Regions from separate parts of the Homo sapiens genome. Here regions 1, 2, 3, 5, 6 and 7 are each linked to region 4. The links are contacts of gene promoters, found by promoter capture Hi-C in blood cells and fetal thymus (Javierre and others, 2016). All regions are on one chromosome and are shown on one strand. Each heading gives the region's core, a stretch centred on a gene start or on the middle of the fragment in contact. The rest is flanking DNA. Distances are from core to core; before and after follow the strand shown.

Region 1 (3,470 bases), core at 302-2,801, 160 kb before region 4:
GAGAAGTGACTGAGTAGACACCTGTAGCTAAACAGAGGTGGTGATGAGTTTATGGTGCCTCCAGCTTCTCATGGCCCCACTTGGGAAATTCCTCCAGTAACATTACACTCACTCACTCCTTGACCATCTACCTTTACTCCTCTCCTCATTTCCCTGTTACCAAAACTATGTGCCCTACCCAGGGACTTCTGGGCAGCTCTTTTCTCAGATCATTTCTCACCCTCTCTCCTCTACTAACTTAGCCTTTCATACTGAATCACATTTTCCTTAAAAAACAGCTGCTGACAGAAGATGCTACATTTTGTTTCAGGGCCTGGTAACCATCAAGGATGTGTCACTGTGCTTCTCTCAGGAGGAGTGGCGGAGCCTGGACCCCTCTCAGACAGACTTTTATGGAGAATATGTCATGCAGGAAAACTGTGGGATAGTAGTCTCTCTGAGTAAGCATGACCTTCTCCAGCCACTAGAAGATTGGACTCTGGGAGGACGGAGCCATCTGCTTCAGGGCTATTGGATAGTGTCTGTCTAGGACTCTTTATGTGGCAGGGAATCTGTCTATGCTTCCGCTGGAGAAAGAACACTAGGGCCAATCCCAAGAGAATGAGAGTAAATATCATTAAAAAAAAAAAAGTAAAAAAGCAAATGATGCTTAATTGTGGAGTAGAACTTGAGGTTCTTCTTGGTTGGGAATTAGGAGGTTCTCATAAAGCAGAGAGAACTGGAACTGGGTCCTTGTAAACTTGGGAACCATGTAGAGGAAGATAGGGATGCAGGGAGTAGGACTGTCGTAGTAGGACTAAAGTGAAGTTACGCCCAGAAAGGCCAGCTGGGCTGGAAGTATCTGAGTGGAAGAAAACAGGTTCATTGGGAAGGAGAGTGATTTTCTAGGCAGAGAAGAGGGACTTAACAGAAATGGGTGGGGGAAGAGGTTGGGGTGGGGATATGTTTCTTTCTTGACCTTCTTTTGTCTAGAGTTCCAAACAATAGGAAACAGTTTTTTGTATTTTTTTTTCAGAAATATAGAATTGCTGTTGAACTAATTGACAGCTCTATTTTCCTTTCCCATGAGCAGGATTTCCAATTCCCAAACTGGACATGCTTTCTCAACTAGAAGGAGGAGAAGAACAATGGGTCCCTGACCCCCAGGACTTAGAGGAGAGGGACATTCTGAGGGTCACATATACAGGTAAGAACCTAGAATAGGCTTTCAGCCACTTCCTTCACAGTTCGGGACATCATCATTCCATGTTCGTTTAATCCCTCCTCTGCCTCAGAGAGTTCCAGAGACAAAAGGTTTAGAGATTTTTTTCTTCAAAAGCAAGGGAGTGTAATAGAATGATGTAGCAGGCACTTTGTGGATTTGAATTCTGGGCTGTAGTTGTGGGACCTTGGAAAAGTAATAAAACTCCCTTTGGTTTCTTCATCTGTAAATTATTGTGAAAATTAAATATATGAATATATTAGAATATTAGAATAGAACAGTGCCAAGCACATAATAAGCACTCAATAAATGTTAGTTGTTGTTATTGTTGATATTGTTGTCAACCTCCCACCCATTTCAGGAATGCCTTGAGGACTGCCGACAGGTGTCATTCAGCCAGTGACAATTGCGGCACATTCTGTAATTCTCTCCATCTATGCTTAGATAGAAAGATGCTGATTAATAGTAATATACAGTAGTAAATAAATAATGGTAATAAATAATAACAATAACATATACAATTTACTAAGTACTTAAACTATGTGCAGGTTCTGTGCTATCTATCTTATAACTGCCGGAGAGAGAGGTATTATTCCAATTTTACAGAAGAAATGAAGGTTTAGGGAAGTTAAGTGGGAAAGCTGAGATTCCATCTTAGGTAATCTGCCTCCTAAGCCTAGGCTTTTAACCTCTATATCTATTGCACTGTCTTGTACGACATTAGACTATGTTCTCTCAGCCCTTCTGGGGTCAAGTCTGGGCCCTGGCAGGTATCAGACAACCTCATTTGTGACTTAGGCCTCAAGCACTCTCTTGTGACTCTTCTCTTGGGGTTGGTATTTCCCCTTCTCCGCAGGAGATGGAAGTGAACATGAGGGGGATACCCCTGAACTAGAAGCAGAACCTCCCAGAATGTTATCCAGCGTGTCTGAAGATACTGTTCTCTGGAACCCGGAGCATGATGAGAGCTGGGATTCCATGCCCAGCAGCTCCAGAGGAATGCTCCTGGGGCCCCCTTTTCTTCAGGAAGATAGTTTCTCAAACCTGCTGTGTAGCACAGAGATGGATTCCCTGTTAAGACCCCACACATGCCCCCAGTGTGGGAAACAGTTTGTATGGGGTTCCCACCTTGCCAGGCATCAACAAACACACACTGGGGAGAGACCCTACAGCTGCCTCAAGTGTGAGAAGACCTTTGGGCGAAGACATCACCTCATCAGGCACCAGAAAACCCACCTACATGACAAGACCAGCAGGTGCTCTGAGTGTGGTAAGAATTTCCGATGCAACTCCCATCTGGCCAGCCACCAGAGAGTGCATGCAGAAGGCAAATCCTGCAAAGGCCAAGAGGTTGGAGAGAGCCCTGGCACAAGGAAACGGCAGCGTGCCCCACCAGTGCCAAAGTGTCACGTGTGCACTGAATGTGGGAAGAGCTTTGGCCGAAGGCACCACCTTGTGAGACACTGGCTGACCCACACTGGGGAGAAGCCCTTCCAGTGCCCTCGCTGTGAGAAGAGCTTTGGCCGAAAACATCACCTGGACAGGCACCTGCTCACCCACCAGGGACAAAGTCCCCGGAACAGCTGGGACAGAGGAACATCTGTCTTTTGAAATCTGTTTCCACTACAGCTATGGTCAAGTCTATCAGCCGGTGCTACCAGGAGTCACTGCCAGGGCTGCCGTTCTCCTGAACCCCAGTGGCCAGAATCATAAGCCCTGACCCCATCCCTAGAAAGATGAGGTCCCAGCAATGGCCAGAGCATTTCTCACCAGTTCTGTGAGATAGCACATAAAAATAGAGTTCTTTGGGCAAAACTTTTGGGAAGCAATGCATCCTACATGGGCTGATATTCAGCCTGAGCTGTTCTCAAGAGGAGAGTGGTACTGGCAGTTTATGGCTGAAATCCATTCTGATTGGTTGGAGTCTATGCTATACCAGTTGTTAAACATTTTGAGTATCACTCTTGCATACTGTTACTATTATATTTTCTCTATATATAGACAGAAAGGCCATTTTAGAATATTAAAGGCTCTGAAAATTTCTGCAGTAGACCCAACTGAAGGTTCTATTAAGGCAGTGTTTCCTAAATGTATTTGACCTCAGTATCCTTTCTATTTACATCCCACAGAACTGGTGACTATGAAACACTCTGGTGAACACTGGGTTAGAGAGTAACAAGGAAACAAGAGATAGTGATCAGGCATCCAGAGCCCCCTTTTTTATCCATATGAAAGCCAGGGGGGCCAGACCTTGTTCATGTGTGGGTCT
Region 2 (3,727 bases), core at 484-2,983, 190 kb after region 4:
GCCGCCCTGCTTCTTGGTTCTCTCTGTTGGTTCCTGTCCGCACGGTAGTTAGGCTGGCAGCGTGTGTAGGATTTGGCTTAGAAGATTGACAACATTGCCTTTGAGCCCTTCTTTGCTACTCCTCCCTCTCCCCTCCCATCAGACTCCTCTCTGGAGTCTGCTCTGCGAGGCCTCTGCTCTGTGGTATCCCAGCAGCCTTCTCAGCCTTGACTTCCAGAAGGGGGCTGTGCAGTGTCCGGGGTGTGCAGGCCCCAGACACGGGGTAGGCTCATGGAGATCCAAGTGCTGATCTAGTGTCAAGGCTGGCCTGGAGACTGGGCTGGGTTGGTGTCTGCCTGCTGTGGTCATGTGCCCTCCCTTGGGCCTGTATCCTCTCTCCAGACTTGCTGCAGGGAGAGGTGGCAGATGTCAGCCTAGTTCTGGCCTCTCAGAGCAGCATGGCAGCTCCCTTTCACTCAGGCCCAGGCTGGGCCCTCCTGCTGGCTGACCCCTGGGGAGAGGGTGCTCCAGAGCTCCCCAAGGAACTGCTTCCCGAAGCAGCCAGGCCAGCCCAGAGGGGCTGTGGCCAATCCTGAAGCTTTATGTTCCTGCTGACATTTTTTCTAAGTTTTCTCTTGCTTTCCTCTTAAATGCCAATCTGGAGAGTCTCCGTTAGGAGAAATGGACCCCAGCCAGGAAGAAGAGTTGAGTTGTATTTAAAACACGAGCTCCCCCTAAAGCATCCTTCTTTAGCTTCTAAGGAGAGGCAGAGACTGACAGGCAGGACTCAGCAGGAAAAGGTACCCCCCTGACCTGCTCAGTCAGGCCCTAGGCCCAGCTCCACCCAGCCTGTGGCCCCCAGAGTTTCGGTAAAGAGTTCCCTGGGCCTTAAGGAACCTTGAGAGAGCATTTGAGGGGTGCCACCACAAACTTGGCAGAAAAAACCCTCCCCCTCCAAGTCCAGTCCTAGAGAAGGAGCTGGCAACCTTGCCTTGCTTTGTAAGCAAAAGCCTCTTAGGGCTTGAGCTCAGATGTAGTGTTTGAGCTGTGGCTGGTGCCCTGCCCCATCAGGGAGCCAATGGTAGACATCCTATGGGCATCTTTGTTTTCCGTAAGAGCAGGCTGTCTGGGGATGGGCCAGAGGAAGAGGCAACCTGGAGTCAACCAAGAGGAGGCCTTAACCAAGCCTTAACCACAGAGGTTAACCAAGCCTTGAAAGCGCTTCCCCCTGAGCAGGCAGGAAGCACTGAGTCCACATGGTTGCCTCGCTGTTTCATTTCCTTACACTCAATTCTCTCAGTCTTTAAATGATCACTTGGCCTTGAAGTTACGGATATTTGGGGTCTGAACTGAAGTTGAAGAAAAGAGAAAATGATTTAAGCTTTGTTTAAGATTAGGGGCCAGGTGCGGTGGCTCACGCCTGTAATCCCAGCACCTTGGGAGCCTGAGGCGGGTGGATCACCTGAGGTCAGGAGTTCCAGACCAGCCTGGCCAACATAGCAAAACCCAGTCTCTACTAAAAATAACAATAAAAAAAATAGCCAGGTGTGGTGACACATGCCTGTAATCCCAGTTACTCAGGAGGCTGAGGCAGAATTGCTTGAACTTGAGAGGTGGAGGTTGTAGTGAGCCAAGACCGCACCACTGCACTCCAGCCTGGCGACAGAGCCAGACTCCGTCTCAAAAACAACAACAAAAAAAGATTAGAAGAAGCCCATTACTGCCTTCTGGCCACCCACTCGCACAGACACCAAAACTGCAGCCCACACCTCGCCATCCTCGTGCTCTGCCCTGGGACACCCCAGGCACAGTGTGTCCTTCGTTTTCTGTAAGGGTGGGCTGGGAGCAGGGACGGACAGGGCCTGTGGGCACCTCTCATGGTCACTTCCTTCTTGCTCACAGGGTGCCCGAGGCAACGATGGTCAGCCAGGCCCCGCAGGGCCTCCGGTAAGTTCATTTCATCCTCAGCAGGTCATTGTTGCTGTGCTTTAAGTCCCGTTAAGCAGCCCAAGGCAGTCTGCAGGGTGTATTGGGTGCAACCACAGCAGCACTCTGATGTCTACTGGAAAGGGGGAGGAAAGAGAAGAAGTTTGTAAATATCAATTGAGCATATCGATAACAAGCTTTGAAGCATGGGCTCATTTTCCTCAGCCATCCTTTCAGCAGTCTTTTTAGAGGAGGGAGGTCAAAGGAGTTTCTGCTTCTCACCACAGATGTAGTCAGAAACTTGCTTTGCCTTCTGAAGCCAGGCAAAGTTTCCTGGGGACGCTGGCAATGGGGACAATTTTCATCCAAGGCCTTTTAGCCACAATGGATATGGAGTGAAATCAGTACAGAGGAGGGAAGGAGTGTGAGGTGTCGGGGTGGCTCGCTTTGGAGGCCAGAACTGGCATTCACCTCTCTTCTCATCCGCCTACTCTCTCCAGGGTCCTGTCGGTCCTGCTGGTGGTCCTGGCTTCCCTGGTGCTCCTGGAGCCAAGGTACGTGCCCTGTTGTCCAGTCAGGAACTTCTGGGTGCCGAGAAGCTGTCCTTTCCCCGTAACCCTTGCTCATTGCTCCCTCAACAACCACCTGCTCCCTTCTGAGAAGTAGCTCCCCACCACCCCACCCACTGGCCCCTCCATCCAGGCAGGGCAAAAAGCCAGACACTCGCAGTCTCACCTGGAGGGAAAGTAAGACAGAAGATAAAATGTGGGAGATCCAGTTACAACTTTGGAGTGGGGAAAGGTGGACAGAGAAGAAGACGGGGATACACCATAGGCCTGGCAGGGGCAGAAGGCCAGGAGTGGCAGCACAGGGAAGCAAACCTAGGGGAGACCCAACAGCTGAGCAAGCTCGGGGCCCTGACGGGCACTGGAGGGAACTGGGCAGGGAAAAGGGCACAGGCAGGGAGCCCCTGCTCCCCTCTGGGTTTCTGCTTTATTTGGGGTGCCTGGCTCTTCCAAACCATGTTAACGGAGTTCTCTGGAGGATTACTAGAGGCCAGTGGGAGGCCAGCCAGTTCAGGGACAGGCCTCGCAGCCCAGGAAGGATTCCAGTGTGAACGTCCCTGGGAATGAATAAGGAGCCTCCATGTGTCACTGGCATCAGGTTGCTTTTCCCCTCCTGGGGGTTTCCATGGCAACCAGACAGTGTCTGAGGTCCCGGAGCCGGGTGAAGGAGACCCATTGTGAAGAGGGACAGCGGAAGGTGAGGGGGGCTGACCTTTTGAAAATAATAATTACCACAGTGAAGCAGGAATGTTCTGAGAAGAAACCTGAGGAGGCTCTGCCCTCTCTCCAGGTCAGCAGCCCTCCCCAGGGACTCTGCCATCTAGAGTGGGTTGTAATTTTCAGGAAAAAATGAAAGTAAAAGCACAAGCCATTTTGTGGGGAGGGGGCTTGCCAGAGGCGCCCGCTAAGGGGAATTGGGCTGTATTGAGAGCAGGGAGGGGCAGAGTCCCCATGTGCTTTTGCCTTGGCTTTCTGGCTTACTGAGAACAGACTGGGGCCGGAGCCAGGGTGTCACTGTTCACCCGTCAGCCAGATGGGAGTGAGGTGGTGCTCTGAGCTGGGATGTTCAGAGACTTAGAAGGGACCTCAGCTCCTCAATAAAATAGAAAAACAGGAGGTGGGGGAGAGAGCGGTGTCCGTCCATCATCCCACGGTGCCAGGATGGCAGGGTCCCCAGCCCACGCTTTTCTGATGGTGTCGATGGAACAGCAGGTTGCCCATTGCTGTAGTATGTAGCTGTGCCGTGGCATGTGGAG
Region 3 (3,506 bases), core at 981-3,480, 180 kb before region 4:
GCCTTGTTCAATATTTCAACAGTAAATATGATGCTAAATGTAGACTTTGTGGGCATTCTCTTTATCACATTGAGAAAGTTCTCTTCTATTCCTGGTTTACTAAGACTTTTTGTCATGAATTTCTTTTAAAGTGACAAATTATATTGATTTTTTAAATGTCAAACGAACCTTGCATTCCTGAGATAAACCTTACTTGGTCATGCTGTATTGTCCTTTTCATATATTGCTGAGCATTATTTACTAATATTTTGTTTATAACTTTTGCATCTGTATTAATGAGTGTATTGGTCTGTAACTTTCATTTGTTGTAATATTCTTCTCAGATTTTGGTATTAAGGTAATATGTGTCTCATAAAACAAGTTTAGAAGCGTAATTTCTCCTCTATTTTCTAAGAGGTCATTTTGCACTGATATTTCTAAAACATTTAATAGAATTCATCCTAAACAAGTTCATATTTAAAAAAAAGAATTCACCAGTAAGGGTATTGGATCTGGAGCTTTTTTTAAAAAATAAGGGAGGTGCTGATTAACTTTTAGGTTTGTAAAGTCAGATATGCATTCTAAAATTTCTAGGTTACAATTACAGTAATAAAAATAGGCTGTATATCAGAATTAGTGAGGGGATGATAATTATACCACTCAATCCAAACGAAGGCATAAAGAGAAAAAAATAAATCAACTTAGAGAGAACAAGTCAAATATGTAGCACAAAATAAAAGGACAGAAAAATTCCAAAATATCCATAATAACAAAAAAGTAAATAAACTAAAATCTCCATGTAAAGACAAATATTTTCAGGGAGGATTAATTTTTAAACTTCAATTTATATACTATACACAAAACATGCCTTGAACATTATGACAAAGAAAAGTTAAAAATAAAATTATAAAAAAGGATATACATACAAATATTAACAAAATAAAAGCTAATTAATGTCAAACCAAATAGACTATAGCCGTTAAAGCTTAGGGCACAAAGCATTACTGTAAAATGGTAAGTTTTATTTCACAGAGAAGTTGTTTCATCAAAACATGTATCAGCCTAATATAACCTTAAAATATATAAAGCAAAAATGGACATAATTATAAGAAAAAGGTAACAAAACCATAAATGAACTGGGAGATTTTCATATACCTGTAGTGGCCCCCCAAAAGATATGTCTATGCTCAAATCCCTGGAACCTGTGAATGTTACCGGCAAATGGCTTTTTAAATTGATAATTAAGGTTTTTGAGATCATCCTGGATTATCCAGTAAGCTCTAAACCCAATGACACATGTCCTTACGACAGAAGAAAGAGGAGAAAACTCAGGCACACAGAGGAGAAAGCAACGTGAAGACAGAGGCAGAGACTGGAGTGATTGGAGCTGCAAGCCATGGAATGCAAATGACTGCCAGCAACCACCAGAAGCTTGGGAACAGGCATAGAATGAATCCTTCCACAGAGTCTTCAGAGGGAACACAACCCTGTGGTTACCTTGGTTTTGAACTCCTAGCTTCCAGAACTGTGAGGGAAAAAAATTTCTTTTGTTTGTAAGACACCAAGTTTGTGGTAATTTATTACAGCAGGTACAAGACATGTATACACCTCCCTCATTCTTAAAAAACAAACAAACAAAAAACCGCATAGACCAAAACTAAGAAAAAAAGAATCAAACTATACAACATTTTTTTTTTGTTTTTAGACAGAGTCTCACTCTGTTGCCCAGACTGAAGTGCAGTGGCACAATCATAGCTCACTGCAGCTTCAACTTCCTGGGCTCAAGTGATCCTCTTGCCTCAGCTTTCCAAGTAGCTGGGACTCTAGGCATGCACCACCACACCTGGCTAATTTTTTAATTTTTTATAGAGATGGGGGTCTCACTATACTAGCCAAGCTGGTCTCAAACTCCTAGCCTCAAACAATCCTCCCATCTTGACTTCTCAGAGCTGGGATTAACAGGCATAAGCCACTGCACCCAGCCTAATTACAATTTTTGATCTGATAGAATATACAGAGCACTGCATCAAATAATCAGACAGAGTTTTTAAAAATTAGCACTCATAAGCCAGGCGTGGTGGCTCATGCCTGTAATCCCAGCACTTTGGGAGGCCGAGGCGGGCGGATCACGAGGTCAGGAGATTGAGACCATCCTGGCTAACACGGTGAAACCCCATCTCTACTAAAAAAATACAAAAACATTAGCCAGGCGTGGTGGTCGGAGCCTGTAGTCCCAGCTACTTGGGAGGCTGAGGCAGGAGAATGGCATGAACCCGGGAGGCGGAGCTTGCAGTGAGCCGAGTTCGCGCCACTGCACTCCAGCCTGCGCGACAGAGCGAGACTCCGTCTCAAAAAAACAAAAACAGAAACAAAAACAAAAAATTAGCACTCATGAAATTTTTGTGAAATGGGCATAAAGCAAGTCTCTAAAAATCAGTATCATGAATCAAATTCTCTGATTATATTAAGTTTTAAAAAGATAAAGAAGACTCTTGCAATGTTTTAAAATTAAATAAGTCAAGCATTATAAAGATAAAATAACATTGGGTATTTTTAAATAATTAGAAATGAAAGATAATGAAAATTCTCCATGTCAAAACTTGTGGCACATACCTATAGCAACAAAGAGAACTATATTCTTATATGATGAAAAATGAAAATAATAAGGTAAGTATTCAAATTAAGACTTTATTAAAAGGAAAAGAGCATAAATCTAAAGAATGTTAGAAGAAATTAATAAAATGGAAAGAAAATACTTAACAGAAATAATTTTTAAACTGAAAAATTGTTCTCCAAAAGAACCTCTGGAAGATTGAGCAAAAAGAAAAGAAAATACAAAAAAAAATTAGGAATAAAAAGAGGACATAACCACAGGTGCAAAAGATATTTTTAAAGCTATGGTGGACATTTATCTGCTGATTTTTGTTGTTTCCATTTAGATAGGAACTGGCAGTGCATGTGTGTGCCCAGATGAAAGGATAAGCATAAGCTGGTGTGACCTGAAATTTGGGCAGTCTGCCTTTTTCTAAAAATTAAACACTAACTTCTGCCACTCTATCAAGAAAAGCTTGTATGAAGTTTTTGACTCCTAAGAGTACTCTGCTGTGATCAATATTTTGTTTAAACTGTTTATTTGTGCAACAAATCTTGGAATTTTCACGCTAAGAACATTGCTAACCTATTCTAAATAAATTCACAATATATCTCTATTTCTGAGTGCAGCCTGTTTTCTGCTATAATTAGCACCATGCTCTGATGTTAATGTTCTTTAGTTATGGAGTTATGCTATGCGATCCTCCACCACACATCTATTTTGAAAAGGTGAAAACCTTACTACTTTTTTGCATCAGAAATAAATGAGGCAATCCATACTGAAAGTGCTTCAAGGAATAATGAGAAATACAGTTAAAAGTGCTTGTAGTTCTTGACTGTAATGTGTCACTTACATGCTAATTAACCACACTATGAGCATATATTCCAGATTAGGACAGTTGACCTCCCTTACAGTATAGTGTAAAGTAACTAAC
Region 4 (3,564 bases), core at 637-3,136:
GTTTTTGGCTGCGGCCCCAAGAGTCCCTCAAATGTCCCCTAAATCTGGGCTGCTGCTGAGCACCCCCGAGTCTCTGCCTGTGAACCGGGCTCTTTGTTCTCTAAGCCCCAGGGAGTGGAAAAGCAATCCCAGATGAAGTCAGTGACAAGGCAGGATCCGCTCTGCATGCAAAATCCTAGAGGTTGAGCTATTATGTCTTCATGCACATTCATAGCCAGCTCCTCCCAGCCCAGGGGCCCTTGGAACCCCATTCACCCAGATTCCTAGGGCTGCAGTTCCCTCCTCAAGCTTCCTTTACCAATCAGCAGCCGCAGAGATCTGTGAGGGGGAGAGGCTTCTGCAGAGCACTGAATATCTTGGATTTCAGCAGAAGGGTAAATTTCCTGTTGCCAGAACAAAATACCCCCAATTCCTTAATTTCCAGGTAAATTGTTAGAGATTATTTGCCATGGTCCTAGGTAAGTCCTTTTTCAGAATAGAAAAAGCAGAATTTTATTTACACAATTCACGGGTTCTCCTGTTGTCTGGGAAGGGGGAAAGGACAGGATAGGGATGGATGGGAGTCCAGAGATGGGCGCTTCCTCTCCCGGAGCCTCACCTTTCCGCAGTTCGCTATAATTCGCTTAGTTGGGCAGAAAGAATTCTCGATGCTCCCAAAGTCCTTCACCCTACAAATCCTTCCTCGAGGGAGTCTCTCTCTGCCTGACCCACAAGAGCAGCTGTCCAAGTGAAGCATGCCGCACCGCGCCGTTCAGTCCCCCTCGCGTCATGCACTCGGAAACCCAAAGACAGCCCGGGAAGGTAGTGCCCCACGGAGTCCCCTCACAGGGAGGCCTCGCCCTCCAGTTGCAGCAGGGTAATGTCGGGCATGTCGAGGGGCTCCACAAGTGGCCCGTCCCCCCCAAGGAGACCAGCACAGGGGCTTTCGGGGCGCTCACAGTGACTGGAGGGTGTGGCGGGGCTGGGCATCTCCTTCTCTTCTTCCTCTTCCTCCTCGTCCTCGGGATCGCGACCCAGCAAGCCGCTGTCCCCGATCCCAGGCGAAGGAGTCTCCGGCTCTTGGGGGTCGCTCTGGAAGCTCCCCTTGCCGCCGACCACGCCCAAGCCGCCCTGGCGGGGCGCAGTGGTCATAATCTGGCACATGGAGACGATGGCTCGCTGGTTGGCGCACACGTCGTCCGAGAGCACCTGGATGTGCGAGGCCTGCTCGTCCAGGGCCCCCCTCATGGCCCTCACGTCCTCAAACAGGGCTTGCAGCTGGGCTTTCAGGTGCTCCATCAGTTCCTTCATGCCGCCGTTGTACTCCCCGGAGATCACGTCCCCCACTGCCGGCACGGTGGACACCTCCAGGGGCGCCGGCATGTCGCCGCCGTCCTTGGTCATGATCTCCAGCAGACCGTCCTCCATTGAGTGGCAGAAGCGGGTGGCGGAGGCTCTGGGTCGCGTCCAGCCCGGCCTCCGGGGTGGGGGAGGGGGTGGAGGGGGAGAGGTCCCGGGAGGGGCTAGCGGGAGCCGAGGGAAGCGGAGGCTCCCGAGACTGGCGGGGAGCCGACGTGAGAGACGAGTCCTGGGCAGAGGGCGCAGGCAGGATCGCGGGAGGCCGAGAAGAGGCTGCGGGACGAGGACCCGGCGAGGGTCCCAGAGCCGGCGTCTCTTGGGATCGCCCCGGGACGAAAGTGCCCTGCCCTGCCTCGCCTCCCGGATCGCGCCCGTGTCAGCGCCGCCCTCTGGGCGCCACAAGCAGAGAGCGCCTGCCGGTTCCGTGGGTCACAGACGCGCTCGCGGAGGGGTCCGCGTCCAGGCTGAGGCCAGCGGCGCGTCGGACTCGGGACTCCCCCAGGCCATTACCGGGCAGCGCCCGCGAGTGTGGCAGCAGCAGCTGGGGTGGGTCTCCCGGGGGTGTCGCGGATGCTCCTCTGTTTCCAAGGCGACGCACGGCACGTAAATGACGTGTGTCTCCATGGTAACCAGGAAGTGGCGAAGAAAAAGGGAGGATGGCTGGAAGCTGCAGTGGGGCTCTGGAGTCTGGACTAGCGGGGTGGGGGGAGGAGAGGGGACGCTACAGTGGCTTCGGCCAAGGCTGGAAAGAGCGTGTGGTCGCAATGTTTAATAGGGAAGTATGAGAGAGCCGTCTGCTGCAGAAACCTCCAAGTCCGGGAGAGATCGTCCCTCCCCTAGCCGGGGTATGAGACCCAGCGAGACTGCCCTGGAAAGATTTTTCCAGCCCGCATTCCTTTCTCAGAGGATGGCGCTAAAGTCGAGTCCTGCCTCCCTGTCCTCCAGCGATGCGCAGGAAAGCGGAGAGGGTAGAGAGGCTGTTGCTAATGATCCCAGAGTTGAGCTGGGGCACGGTGGCGCTCTGGAGCCGGACCCACCGGGCCTGACGGTGCAGAGGCAGGAGGAGGGCGCTACGGAGGTTTCTGCAGTAAATCAGCCCTCTAGCTATAGAAATCACCGGAGCGGGGGAAGGATGGGACTCCCTCCTTTATGAGACCCTACCGCTCCTACGCAGGTCTCTGGGAGTTTGTCCCAGATGGGGAGGCCAAGTGCTTAAGTTTTGAGAATGAAAGCTCCATAAGGGGAGAGATTTTTGTCTCCCCTGCACCCTCCATCACGGAATCCCCAGCTCCTAAAATAGTGCCTGGCACCTAGTATGTAGATGCTTAATATAGTTATTGAATGAATAACAAAAACCACCAAGTCCCACGCTCTCATCCAGAACTCCCCAAGCCAAACGTAGTGGGTTTTAGGAGACCTGAATTCAGTTTCGTTTCTGCCACTTATTCATTCAGCGACCTTGGCCACATCATTTTCCTCATCTGTTAGGGAATTGGACTGGATAATCTATAATACTATTTCTAATTCTGAATAACAGTCTGCATCATCTCACAGGTGAAAAGGTAAACTGTTGACCGTTGTGTGGAGGGTATGGATGGGGGGACTGTGTGTTAGAGTAATTCCCGCTCTCTCTTTCAGTGCCCAAGTTCAGACATACACTGAGTATCCCCAACCTTTGTGACAAGCCCTTTCCCTATTTAAGGGGTGGAGCAGGAAGGGTGGAGGAAGAAGAAAAATTGTCTTTAATATACGTAGATGATTGCAGATTGAGAAGGAATCAGCACCTGGGCAGAGCACAATAATTAATAATGACCCTAGGAAATTAGGGAAGCCAAGTGATCGGAAGCCAAAAATGAAGTTCATAAGAATAAATCTGGGAAAGAGAAACAAACTATATCACTTCAAGATAGAGAAGAACTACGTAAAGGTGAGTGTTTTGTAGACTGGCGGTTCAGTGACAGCAAATGTGTTACCTTTGGGTTTCCCTGGTTATGTGCTTGGTGATGAAGAGTGAGGCTGGCCCAGGGAAAGTTTTGTGACACTAGAGGACTGCTTGACCTATACCAATCTTACTGCTTTTAAAATAGAAACAAGTGGGGACTATCCTAAATGACCAGCAGCAGAATGTTTAAATAAACTAAGGCAAAATTGCTGATACATAAAGTATTATGCAGCCATTAAAAATTTGATTTCCCAAAACAAATATATGAACAAATTTTAAAAACA
Region 5 (3,765 bases), core at 679-3,178, 170 kb after region 4:
GCACACTCATGGAGATTTTTAAGGAGTGTGTTCCCTGCAAAATCTCAATACCAAGTGATGATTTCCGTAAGTTTCCATAAGTTGGTAAGTTCCAAGCCTTTCCTCCAAGGGGGCATGGTCATCCCTATAGATACAGGACATTAATGGCAAGCAACGCTGATGCTGGGCAGGGAATATGTACTCGCTCTGAGAAAACTGTGAGGGAATTACACGACTCTGCAGTGGAGAACACTGGAGAAAAAGGGGGCCAAAAAGATAAGAAAAGAGAGAACAAGAGAGAGAGAGAGAACAAAAAGAAGCAACTGAAAGTCTATCAATAGGCAGCTTGTACATCGATACAGGAGAAGACCATGTCATGCAGCTATTACAAAGAAAAAGGAGCAGGATCCTTGGTGCCCAGTTGTTGAAGATTGTTCACTCTCTGTGTACCTGGGGCTGTGTTCTATGCCCTGAGAACCAGATGAGTGGGAGAAACACAAGTGCAGCGAAGCCCGATCAGAAACACAAAACTCTTTGGAAAGATGTCAGCTGGGTTTGGAAGGAAAGGAAGGGGTTTCTGAAGCAGTGCAGGTGAGAGAGGATTGGGCTGGGCCAACGGTCCACATTCTGGCATGTGTTCCTAGGTCTCTTATCTCATTGCAGTATCAATATTTTGATACTATTTCAACAACAGTGCCTTATTTAAGGAATAAATCTGCAATTTCTTGAATTTTCAAATGGTTGCTTCTTTGGCTGGGCAATAACCATGTGAAAGTGTTATTATTCCACAAGTTCACCACCCTGCCTGCTGGAGCTCTCTACTTATTTGGAAAAACAGGACTTTGCACTTGAAGCTGACAGAGAAGAAGGAAGTGGACAAGTTGGAAGACCCAAGCTCTCTTTTAACCTCTTGATCAAAACTAGTGTCACCTTGGGCAACTCCCTATTGTCCCTGTCAGGGCCAGGCTCAGGGTGCACACTTTAAGAGGCACCAAAAATACTCAGTCATCAAGATACAGACTATTTTAATGTAACATTTTAAAAATAAAAATTAATGCAAAAATCTATAATGAACAAAATACCAGACATTTAAATAAATATAGGATCAATATTACTGATTCTTCCTTTTGCTGTGGGCTCCATTATGGCTGGACACAGCATTGTCCCCAAGGCCTCATTTTCCGCATCTCTAAGTCAAGAGGGTTGGACCATTTGACTGCCCAGGAACCTGCTGGGCCCCGTTGTTTTATGGCTCAGTAATGAAGTGCCACTGAAGAATGAGAGAACATTTAACAAAGTGCTAATTGTACAGCCCAGACAATAGTGCGGGTGAGATGACAGGGAGTCTTCATGGGGACAAGGGATGGCAATAGAATCCAGGCAGCTGGGGGAGATAACAACATTTGGCCAGCTTTCTCTTTGTTTCCACTGGACACAAGCTCACCTACCAGCGACAGGAGGGGGACAATGCTCCCGCGCCTCCTCCCTCTTTCTCCCCTGGAACTGTGCTCAGACCTAGTCAGGGGACAGGGAGAGCCTCATTCACATGTGGCTTATGGCCCAGCGACCTGCTGGCTAACAAAGCTTTCTAAGGATATCTGAGAGAAGCTTGGTACCCCATAGGAGGAAGGGACAGCAACAGAGGTGCCCTGCCCGGTATCCTGGGACCCAACCAGTGCTGCCCTCTCACCTCATCCCAAGATGGGCAAAGCAGCACAGCTTGCTCTCTCGTAACCTTCCTGAGGGCACCATTGTCTTGACCGAGTCCTCTAAGGCCGGCATGGAATGAATGCATGAGAACAGCTGTGAATACAAAGCTTAGGACATTCTGTGGACATGTTGAGACAAATTAGTTAATAATCATCTAGTTAGGGAATCCCATTTCCAGAGTGAATGACTTGCACCTCCCCATCACCCAAGTCCAGGATAACATTTCTCAGTGAGACTTCAAACCCATGTTCCACATGGGGGCTGCAGCTCCACCCCTTGGGACGGCCTGGCTGCTCATGCAACCCATTTCCCGAGAGGCTGGTTTCAGAATGCTCTTCCCAAATCCTCACCAGCTCAGAGATGAAGCTTCATCTCTGCAAATGTCATTCATCACTAGAAAGTGGCTGGGGCCTCTGAGGTCCTGTTCAGATCAACAGGATGAGAGAATCCCGCTCTTCAGGAAAACCCACCTCTTCTCATTGGCCCCAGTGCCCCTCGCATTCTTGCCGAGCTGCAGGAGGGCAGCTAAAGACAAGTGACATTGGAAAAAACAGTGGCCTCCACCCTGGACAGGAAGAATGGCTCCCTTCATCGGGACTGCTCTGGGATGCCAGGGTTATCCAGGTCCCAGAGTGAGGAAGTGAATCAACTCTTCCCAGCCTTCAGTCATGCAGGCTGCTTCTGTACCCTTCAGTGGTGTGGTATTTAGACACGTTTTGTGAAAACCTGATGAACATCTCACTTAGATGTTGGAAACAAACATAAGCCCCAGCCAATTCTTACACTTGCTGAGGATGAATAAGTCCCTTTGGCTTCCCAGTTAGCTGGGTCCAACAAGCGAATTTAGAGGCTAAGAAGTGAGTTGTTGGCCCTCACATGGACTTACCATCTGAGTGTGCCCTTGGCTGGCTGCATAGCTTGAGAGCAGCGGTTCTCAACCTTAGGCACAGATTGGAATCACATGGGGGGCTTAAAAAACACTGACCAGGGTCCCCCCACCAAAAAAAATTCTGATTTAATTGTTCTGGGGTGCAGTCACAACATTGGGATCTTCAAAAGCTCCCCAAGTGATCCCAATATGCAGTCAGGACTGGGAACTACTGCCCCACCCAGACCAGTGCTGAAACCTTAACATGTAAACAAATGACCTCAGGATCTTATTAAATGAAGATTCTGATTCAGCAGGTCTGGGGTGGGACCTGAACTTCTGTACTTCTTTTTTTTTTTTTTAGACGGAGTCTCGCACTGTCACCCAAGCTGGAGTGCAGTGGCGCAATCTCGGCTCACTGCTGCAACCTCCGCCTCCCGGGTTCAAGTGATTCTCCTGCCTCAGCCTCCTGAGTAGCTGGGATTATAGGTGCATGCCACCACACCCAGTTAATTTTTGTGTTTTTAGTAGAGACAGGGTTTCACCATGTTGGTCAGGCTGGTCTCGAACTCCTGACCTGGTCGTCTGCCCACCTCAGCCTCCCAAAGTGCTGGGATTACAGGCATGAGCCACTGCGCCCGGCCGAACTACTGTACTTCTAACAAGCTCCCAGGTGATGAGATGCTGCTGGTCTGCAGACCCCACTTCAAGTAGCAAGAGCACACTGCATTGTCTAACATGGTAGCTAACAGCCACACAGGCTGCTGCTTAATTAAACCTTAAAACAACTTAAACTTTAGAAATTCAGTTCCTTCACTGTGTTAGCCACATTTTATGTGCTCAGTCACCACACGTGGCTAGTAGCTACCATATTGGATGGCACAGAGAGACTCTCCTTCATCACAGAAAGTTCTTTGGGGCAGTGCTGTCTTAGAACATCTCCTTGTCTCTCAACTCCTATTCAAGTTGCCATCTCTTGAAATGTGGATTGAAGCTACTTTGGTGGCAGGGACTATGAAACAGTACCTTATACTCCCCACATTGTGTCTGTGAACTAGAAATGTAATAGGTGCTCAGTTAATGCTTGCTTCAGTTAGGGTACTTGTGCCTTTGTCCAAAGACGATCACCATATAAACACTGACTGATTAATGTCTACTTGGGCATCAATGAGCAGTCTTATGGAGTTGTATCCAGTGGTTCAGTGGGC
Region 6 (3,579 bases), core at 255-2,754, 250 kb before region 4:
ACCCACTGTCCAACAAGCCTCAGTGAGATGAACCCAGTACCTCAGATGGAAATGCAGAAATCACCTGTCTTCTGCATTGCTCACGCTGGGAGCTGTAGGCTGGAGCTGTTCCTATTTGGCCATCTTGGCTCCACCGCTGGCAAAGAATATTTTTAAAAGCTTCTGGCTGGCCGGGTGCGGTGGCTCACACCTGTAATTCCAGTACTTTGGGAGGCCAAGGTGGGCAGATCACAAGGTCAAGAGATCAAGACCATCCTGGCTAACATGGTGAAACCCCGTCTCTACTAAAAATACAAAAAATTAGCCAGGGGTGGTGGTGGGTGCCTGTAGTCCCAGCTACTCAGGAGGCTGAGGCAGGAGAATGGTGTGAACCTGGGTGGCGGAGCTTGCAGTGAGCCGAGATTGAGCCACTGCACTCCAGCCTGGGCAACAGAGCAAGATCCTGCCCCCCCCCCCCCCAAAAAAAAGCTTGTTGCACAGTAACTGTACTTTGAATGTGTAAGTTGTGAGTCAAGAAATGGAGAATCCATTTAGGATAAGTTCTCACCAGAGGGATCCCACTGCTAAGGCAGTTCAAAATAGTTTTTTGAATAGAATCGCCTATCATGCAAAGGTCAGTCTTTCCTTCCTGGTGAGCCTAGTTCTGGTCCATGAACGCACAAGCACTGTAGCCGTGGCTGAGCAAGGTGGTGGTTATGCAAACGGCAACATTTTCTTTCATTCACCAAGGCTGATCTGCTGTTGCCATTGGTGACAGGTATTTTGATAAAGGTCACACATAAATTTTGCCAGATATATTACCAGATACCATCTATTTTTTGTTCCTATTGTGAATTAAAAATTCAGATATATTTACTACTTGGTTATTTCTGATGTATAGGAACGTTGTGGTATTTTGTACATTGATCTTGTATCTGTCAAGTTTGTTGAACTATCTTTCTAGTACTACTGTCTTGTTTATACATACTATTGGATTTTAACATTACATTTTAATTATTTTATCTTAAATTAGGGTAAGATTTTTTATATGCTTTTTTTTTTTTTGTAGAAAAAGTTTCACTCTTGTTGCCCAGGCTGCAGTGCAATGGTGTGATCTGGGCTCACTGCAACCTCCACCTCCTGAGTTCAAGCGATTTTCCTGCCTCAGGCTCCCCAGTAGCTGGGGTTACAGGCATGTACCACCACGCCTGGCTAATTTTGTACTTTTAGTAGAGATGGGATTTCTCCATGTTGGCCAGGCTGGACTTGAACTCCTGATCTCAGGTGATCAGCCCACCTTGGCCTTCCAAAGTGCTGGGATTACAGGCATGAGCCAGTGTGCCTGGCTGTATGCAATTTTTATATATCTCATTTTTAAAGTTCATGCAGCAGCCAGGACCTCCAGTATAGATATCTTTCTGTTAGGATCAATGAGAAAGCTTCTCATGTTTCAGCATTAAGGATGATGTTCTATTTTTGATGAATATCTTTAAGTTATTAAGAGAGTTCTTTTTTGTTTGTGTTTTCTGAACCTATGGATTATATTGAAAGGAGAGTTCTTTTCTAAACATATTTTGCTAAGAATTGGTGTGAGATTTTATCACAAGCTTTTTCTGCTTCTATTGAGGACTACGGTTGTTTCTCTTTTGTTCAGTACTGTATAGTGTCTGTCACACAATAGGCATGCAATAAAAACATTTTGGAAAAAAATAAATTCATTGAAATGGTTATATGGTTTTTGTCATTTAATTTGTTAATAACAAATTGTATCAGTGCATGTTCTGTTTTTGAAGAATTGTTGCATTCCTGGAATCAGCCTACTTAGGTAGAGTATTAAAAACTTAATTAACTTTTACCAGTATTTAACTTAGGAATTTCCTATTTGTATTTATAAGTGAGATACTATAATTTTTTTATTGCATTCACTCCATCTTTTCTTTTTAAGAACTTTATTGAGATTATAATTTATACATCACAATATTCAGCCATTCAAAGTGCACAAGTCAATGGTTTCTAGCATATTTACAGAGTTTTGCACCCATCACTACCACCAATCTCAGGACATTTTGTCATCCCCAAAGAAATCTCACACCTATGGGTAGTCACTCTCCAATCCCATCCCCATTCTTGGCCCTAGAATTCCACTAAACTACTTTTTATGTATATAGATTTGCCTATTCTAGACATCCAATACTGATATCAATAATATGCTTTCATTCATCTTTGTATTTTCTTAAAATATTTGCTTAAAGAAGAGATGATCACTTTCTCGAAGGTTTTTATAAAACTCATCTTTGACATTTTAAGGATTTCTTGTCTTGTTGAGAAAATTTTTTATTTCTAATTTAATTCCTTTGATGATTATTGTACACTTGTGTTTTATATTTTGTTAGTGAATCAATTTTGGTGATTTGTAATTTTCATCACTATTTTTCATCTAATTTAATTAGTATTTTGTTTCTCATAATATTCTCTTATAATTTTTAAATATTGACTCATGTATTCAGCATTCATTTCATTTGAAAATGAAAAGTTTCCAACATACAGCAAAGTTAACAGAATTTTATAGTGAATACCCAGATAATCACATCTAAATTTTATAATTAACATTTTAATATACATTCTTTTTTACTTTTTATTTTTCCATAGGTTATTGAGGGTACAGGTGGTGTTTGGTTACATGAGTAAGTTTTTTAGTGGTGATTTGTGAGATTTTGGTGTACCCATCACCTGAGCAGTACACATTGCACCCTATTTGTAGTCTTTTATCCCTCCCCCACCACCCTTCCCCACAAGTTCCCAAAGTCCATTGTATCATTCTTATGCCTTTGCATCCTCATAGCTTAGGTCCCACATATGGGTGAGAACATACAATGTTTGGTTTTCCATTGCTGAGATATTTCACTTAGAATAATAGTCTCCAGTCTCACCCAGGTTGCTGTGAATGCCATTAATTGATTCATTTTTATGGCTGAGTAGTATTCCATCGTATATATATACCACAGTTTCTTTACCCACTCGTTGATTGATGGGCATTTGTGTTGGTTCCACGATTTTGCAATTGCAAATTGTGCTGCTATAAGCATGCATGTGCAAGTATCTTTTTTGTGTAATGATTGATTTTCCTCTGGGTAGATACTCAGTAGTGAGATTGCTGAATCAAATGGTAGTTCCACTTTTAGCTCTTTAAGGAATCTCCACACTGTTTCCGTCTTGGCTGTACTAGTTTACATTCCCGCCAGCAGTGTAGAAGTGTTCCCTGATCACCACGTTCACGCCAACATCTACTGCTTTTTTATTTTTTTAATTATGGCCATTCTTGCAGGAGTAAGGTGGCATCACATTGTGGTTTTGATTTGCATTTCTCTGATCATTAGTTGAGCATTATTTTCATATGTTTTTTGGCCATTTGTATATCTTCTTTTGAGAATTGTCTATTCATGTCCTTAGCCCACTTTCTGATGGGATTGTTTGTTTTTTTCTTGCTGATTTGAGTTCTTTGTAGATTCTGGATATTAGCCCTTTGTCAGATGTATAGATTATGAAGATTTTATCCTACTCTGTGGGTTGTCTGTTTACTCTGCTCACTGTTCCTTTTGC
Region 7 (3,898 bases), core at 1,201-3,700, 200 kb before region 4:
AGAGGACTTTAAAGTCAATTTATTATTCATGGAAGGTTTTCAAACTTGATTATATTTTTAAGGCTTCTTCCTGAGGAAAGGGGGTTACTAAATGCTCCTGCTTTGTTTTTAAATGGAGAAACATAAGTAGTTTCTACAAATAAGTTGAGTAGAAAGTCTTGATGGAAAGGCAGATACAAGAGAAGAAAAAGAACATGGTTGGTTCCAGGAGATGCTCAAGGAGAATGGTGCTATCTTTGGGTACTTACTCAACATCCCTCCTGGCACAAGATTACCACAAGGGACCATCTGGCACAAGATTACCAACAAATTCATGAAGAAATACAGATAAGTCACACAAACTAGCCGTGAGCTTTCCTCAGGATTGAAGGAGATGAAAGAGTAAAATAAGAAATACCAGATTCTCTTAGCTGGGAACAAAAGACTCAAGACAGCCTCCACTGGATGCCACAGCACCTTAGCCTCTACCCAGAAGTGACCTTCAAGTGAACTGCTCTGAGTTTGAGCATGACTTCAGACCTAGCATTGACTGGGAGCTAAGTGTGCTTTGTGGGAAATGCAATTGTAGCCCTCTGTGGAAGACAATTACTGCTGGAGAGAGTTTTTTTGCACATATTGCATTCCTGCTGTGGAGGCAGCTGACAGCCTAGCTTGAAATGCAGTGTGTATTTTGGACCCGGGACAGCCCTGTTCACTGAGGAGGTGAGTGAGCCAGAGCTACATCGAATTGGGGGAATCTGAATGGGCCTTAGTTATAAATTTCTTTTTAAAAATAAACTATTAGAATTGGAAACTGGACCCAGGATGGTAATATTGTTGCTCAAAGTCACAAAATCAGGTAGTGACTGTCCTCTAAGTTAGATCTCTCTACCCACTTGCCCATTGGGGTTTCTCTATTCTGTTTTTTCATGTACCAGGATCTGGACAAAAACAAACAAATAAAAAAGCTTTCTTTGAGATGAAAGATGAGTGGAGTGGTGAATATAGAGACCAGAAAAAAAGAGTCTTTTTCCTTACTTCTGATCAAAGATTCCTTAAGTGACTCATTTTAAAAGTTGCTTTATTAGCTAAATATTTTGTTCATTAAAATAAAACCCACTGCAAAAGCCACACACATAAAAACAAATAAATGAAGAGCCATGGTGATTATAGTGCATGAGGCAGGGACAGGGAGAGACCGACACACAGGACTAGCCTCTCAGTGCTTGTGGCGGCCCCTGAAGCTTGGGGGCAGCATATTTGCGTTCCATGCAACACACTTGGAAAGTTCACTAGAGTCTGGGATCCTGGGGCTTTCTAGAGTTCAGTTGAGGTCATGCTCTGCCTCCAGATGTGTTTCTAATATAGCACAGTAGCTCTTGAAAGAGTATGATAAAGAGTGAGAAAGATCAAAAATGAAAAGTTAAATTTGCTATTGCTATTTTTAGGAAAGGGACAAGAAGAGGACTGTTCTTTGTATGAATAAATCTCAGTCCTTCTCGTGTTACTTACTTGATGCATCACCACCCAATGCTTCAGGTAGGGAAACAAGTCAGGGAAAACTAGAAGTGCCCTCTCTGATACCCCATTTTCCCCATTCCTGTAGAGTTCCGCTTCTTTAAGTCTGAGTTGCTTTCAGTCCTCCATCTGGCTTTACCTTAGTCTTCTCTTCCTGGAATTTTCCGTGACTCAGAAGTCCCCATCTTTCTTCCAAGAGGTCAGACTCCTCATGCCCATATCTTTGTGAGCATTGGGAGAATGTGAGGAAGAAGTTCCAGGCATGGTCAATGACTCAAATGCCCAGGGCCACTTCACATTCCTGCCTAGACTCCTAAGTCTCCTCAGGAAAATGCATAGTCTCCAAACCAAGAAAGATTTTCCCATAAGCACACTTTTACAGTATTGCAAAGCAGTAAAAACATAGGATTTGAAGTCAAAGGGCCTTGGGCATGAGTCTCAATTCCATCACTTTGTAAGGTGTGTGACTGAGTGTGCCACTTAACCTTCCTGACCTACAGAAATGGGGTCAGAAATACCTGTACTATCAGTTTTTGTGAGAATTAAATGAGATCAACAGCATTCTGTTATGGTGTCTGACATACATGATGCATAAAATAAATGATAGTTATTATCATATGAGTATGTAAGTAGGTGGGAACAGCAATAAGAATAAGGAAATGAGGTTTGAAGGAGGTAAGGAAAGAAAAAAATGTTTGTATTTTTCTGATGGGAGAGCAATATAAAATACAAGCGGTGAGTCAGCATGTCTTGGCAAGAGAGAGGAGAGTGAATGTCCAGAGAGAATAAAAAATGAAGAAGGCTTGGAAGTCTGGCTGAGAGGAACTGGGAGCCAGAAAGCACTTTTCCTATTTAAAAAAAAATGCTTTTACTGAAAACATAATTTTACAGCACAGGTGAAATATTTCATGGGGAAAATTGTGCACAATCTAGACACCAAAAGATCTCAAATATTTATTTTACCCATATTCTATTTCAGTCTTATACATATTTTTAAAACTTTTATTAAAAGTATGTCTTATGAAGATTTTAATCACATTTGCTCCAATTTTATACCCATTTTGCATTTGGGAAGGTTATGTCTTGAAAAGTTTTCACAGACTTTTCAAGGTAATCAGCAAGGGCTTCCTAACTCTGAGTCTAGTGCTCACTTTACCGCCATAGTAGCTGCTGTAGAAACTTAAGACATGTTGCAAACTCACAGGACCAAGAAATATTAGGGTCACTCCTGTCCTGCCCAGTCCACACCAGGCTCAATGCAAAACTGCTTAAATCCACAAATATCTATTGCCCATGTGTGGAGCATCAGAAAGAGAACTGGATGAGAAATCAGAACAACTTGCTTGGTCTTGGCTCTGAAACCACCTAGCTACGTGACCTTGTGCAAGACATGTCATTTCCCTCTTCCATATTGTCCTTATGTGAAAATACAGAGTCAGATAACATGCCTCTGAATGTTCCTTTCAGATGAAATGTGCTAAGAATTTAAGCTCCAATTGTTTGGAAAAATAGCCTCCCACAAAAGAGTTTCACTTTGGCATCTTTCTACTCATTTCAACTCTAGGGCTCACCTGATCTTGGATGTTACCAGCTGAAAGGCTGGGGAAGAGTACAAGAGGATAGAGACTGTGGGAGGTGTCTTGCTTCTAAGCAGAGAGCTGGTAGCATGAGGGTTAGGGGAAGACATTATAGCTGAGGAGGCATTCATTCTTTCATTTGGCAAATACTGAGAGCCTTCTAACTGGGTCTACTGCGTTTCTAGGACTGTGACACTTCCCTGATCATCTTCTCTAACTCAAAAGTTTTTAAGACGGTGACAATTATTGGCTTTGGGGAGTGCATCAGTGTTGTGCCGAACCCCTATCAACTCCAGTGGGGATGGCACCAGGTTCAAGAGGCCAAAGAAGAGACTCAGAGCCAGCAAATGAGACATGGAGTTTTATTGGGGGCTTACATAGAGGGGAGAGAGTCCAATGGCGATGGACTAGATAAGATAACTGCACGGCCCAGTGGCAGCAGGCTGGGCAGGAGAACTGCCTTACATACAGTACAGCAATGGCAGACTGGGCAGAAGAACTTCAACTGCTTGCAAAAGGCCTGCAGTTTATATAGCATTGTCACTTAGCAACACCCTCCCCCACCCCCCACAAAAGAGTCTCCATCCAGCAACTTAAGCTTAACCCAAAACAAGGGACCTTGATCCCCTGTATGGCCCACATTCTACTGGACGAGCCGGAGGCTCAGCTGTTCCTCATGGACAAGGAACAAATCTCTGGGCTGGCCACTCCCGGATTCCCCAGCTTGGAACACACATTCAGGTGTGTCTGCCGTACTGGGTCATTCTCAGGGTATGCTTAAGTTACTGCTATCAGGTGGGTTTACCATACACTCTGTAGGGGAA

What was found. Contacts are between HindIII fragments. The CHiCAGO score rates a contact against its expected background, and 5 or more counts as called.
Region 1: a contact is called between a fragment that was not itself captured here and the fragment with the promoter of CCDC184 in region 4, in 5 of 17 cell types (monocytes, neutrophils, M1 macrophages and 2 more). The highest score is 10.7, in monocytes.
Region 2: a fragment that was not itself captured here is called in contact with the fragment with the promoter of CCDC184 in region 4 in 2 of 17 cell types (megakaryocytes and naive B cells); the score reaches 7.0 in megakaryocytes.
Region 3: a contact is called between a fragment that was not itself captured here and the fragment with the promoter of CCDC184 in region 4, in 3 of 17 cell types (monocytes, neutrophils and M1 macrophages). The highest score is 6.1, in monocytes.
Region 5: a contact is called between a fragment that was not itself captured here and the fragment with the promoter of CCDC184 in region 4, in 1 of 17 cell types (megakaryocytes). The highest score is 5.6, in megakaryocytes.
Region 6: a fragment that was not itself captured here is called in contact with the fragment with the promoter of CCDC184 in region 4 in 3 of 17 cell types (M1 macrophages, megakaryocytes and M0 macrophages); the score reaches 8.3 in M1 macrophages.
Region 7: a contact is called between a fragment that was not itself captured here and the fragment with the promoter of CCDC184 in region 4, in 1 of 17 cell types (neutrophils). The highest score is 5.5, in neutrophils.

The regions. Positions count from the first base shown.
Region 1 is chr12:48,342,315-48,345,784 of GRCh38, reverse strand. It overlaps ZNF641 (zinc finger protein 641), which reads left to right. Exons shown (of 6, transcript NM_001172681.2): 4 at 311-440; 5 at 1,073-1,186; 6 at 2,058-3,470. The coding sequence ends at 2,812. Among named protein-coding and RNA genes, the nearest start is that of ZNF641, 6.9 kb to the left of the region's middle. The HindIII fragment of the contact is 4,744 bases long and covers 1-3,470 here.
Region 2 is chr12:47,987,960-47,991,686 of GRCh38, reverse strand. It overlaps COL2A1 (collagen type II alpha 1 chain), which reads left to right. Exons shown (of 54, transcript NM_001844.5): 17 at 1,882-1,926; 18 at 2,406-2,459. Among named protein-coding and RNA genes, the nearest start is that of COL2A1, 15 kb to the left of the region's middle. RefSeq lists an enhancer at 1,424-1,473. The HindIII fragment of the contact is 742 bases long and covers 1,363-2,104 here.
Region 3 is chr12:48,364,230-48,367,735 of GRCh38, reverse strand. No RefSeq gene overlaps it. Among named protein-coding and RNA genes, the nearest start is that of ZNF641, 15 kb to the right of the region's middle. The HindIII fragment of the contact is 1,636 bases long and covers 1,413-3,048 here.
Region 4 is chr12:48,181,966-48,185,529 of GRCh38, reverse strand. CCDC184 (coiled-coil domain containing 184) reads right to left here and starts at 1,886. Exons shown (of 1, transcript NM_001013635.4): 1 at 1-1,886. The coding sequence starts at 1,407. The coding sequence ends at 823. The HindIII fragment of the contact is 3,853 bases long and covers 291-3,564 here.
Region 5 is chr12:48,015,186-48,018,950 of GRCh38, reverse strand. It overlaps LOC105369750 (a long non-coding RNA gene), which reads right to left. Exons shown (of 4, transcript XR_944904.3): 2 at 1,670-1,807. Among named protein-coding and RNA genes, the nearest start is that of COL2A1, 13 kb to the right of the region's middle. The HindIII fragment of the contact is 259 bases long and covers 1,799-2,057 here.
Region 6 is chr12:48,430,336-48,433,914 of GRCh38, reverse strand. It overlaps a transcript of C12orf54 not described here. Among named protein-coding and RNA genes, the nearest start is that of ANP32D, 40 kb to the left of the region's middle. The HindIII fragment of the contact is 168 bases long and covers 1,421-1,588 here.
Region 7 is chr12:48,386,982-48,390,879 of GRCh38, reverse strand. No RefSeq gene overlaps it. Among named protein-coding and RNA genes, the nearest start is that of ZNF641, 38 kb to the right of the region's middle. The HindIII fragment of the contact is 2,449 bases long and covers 1,226-3,674 here.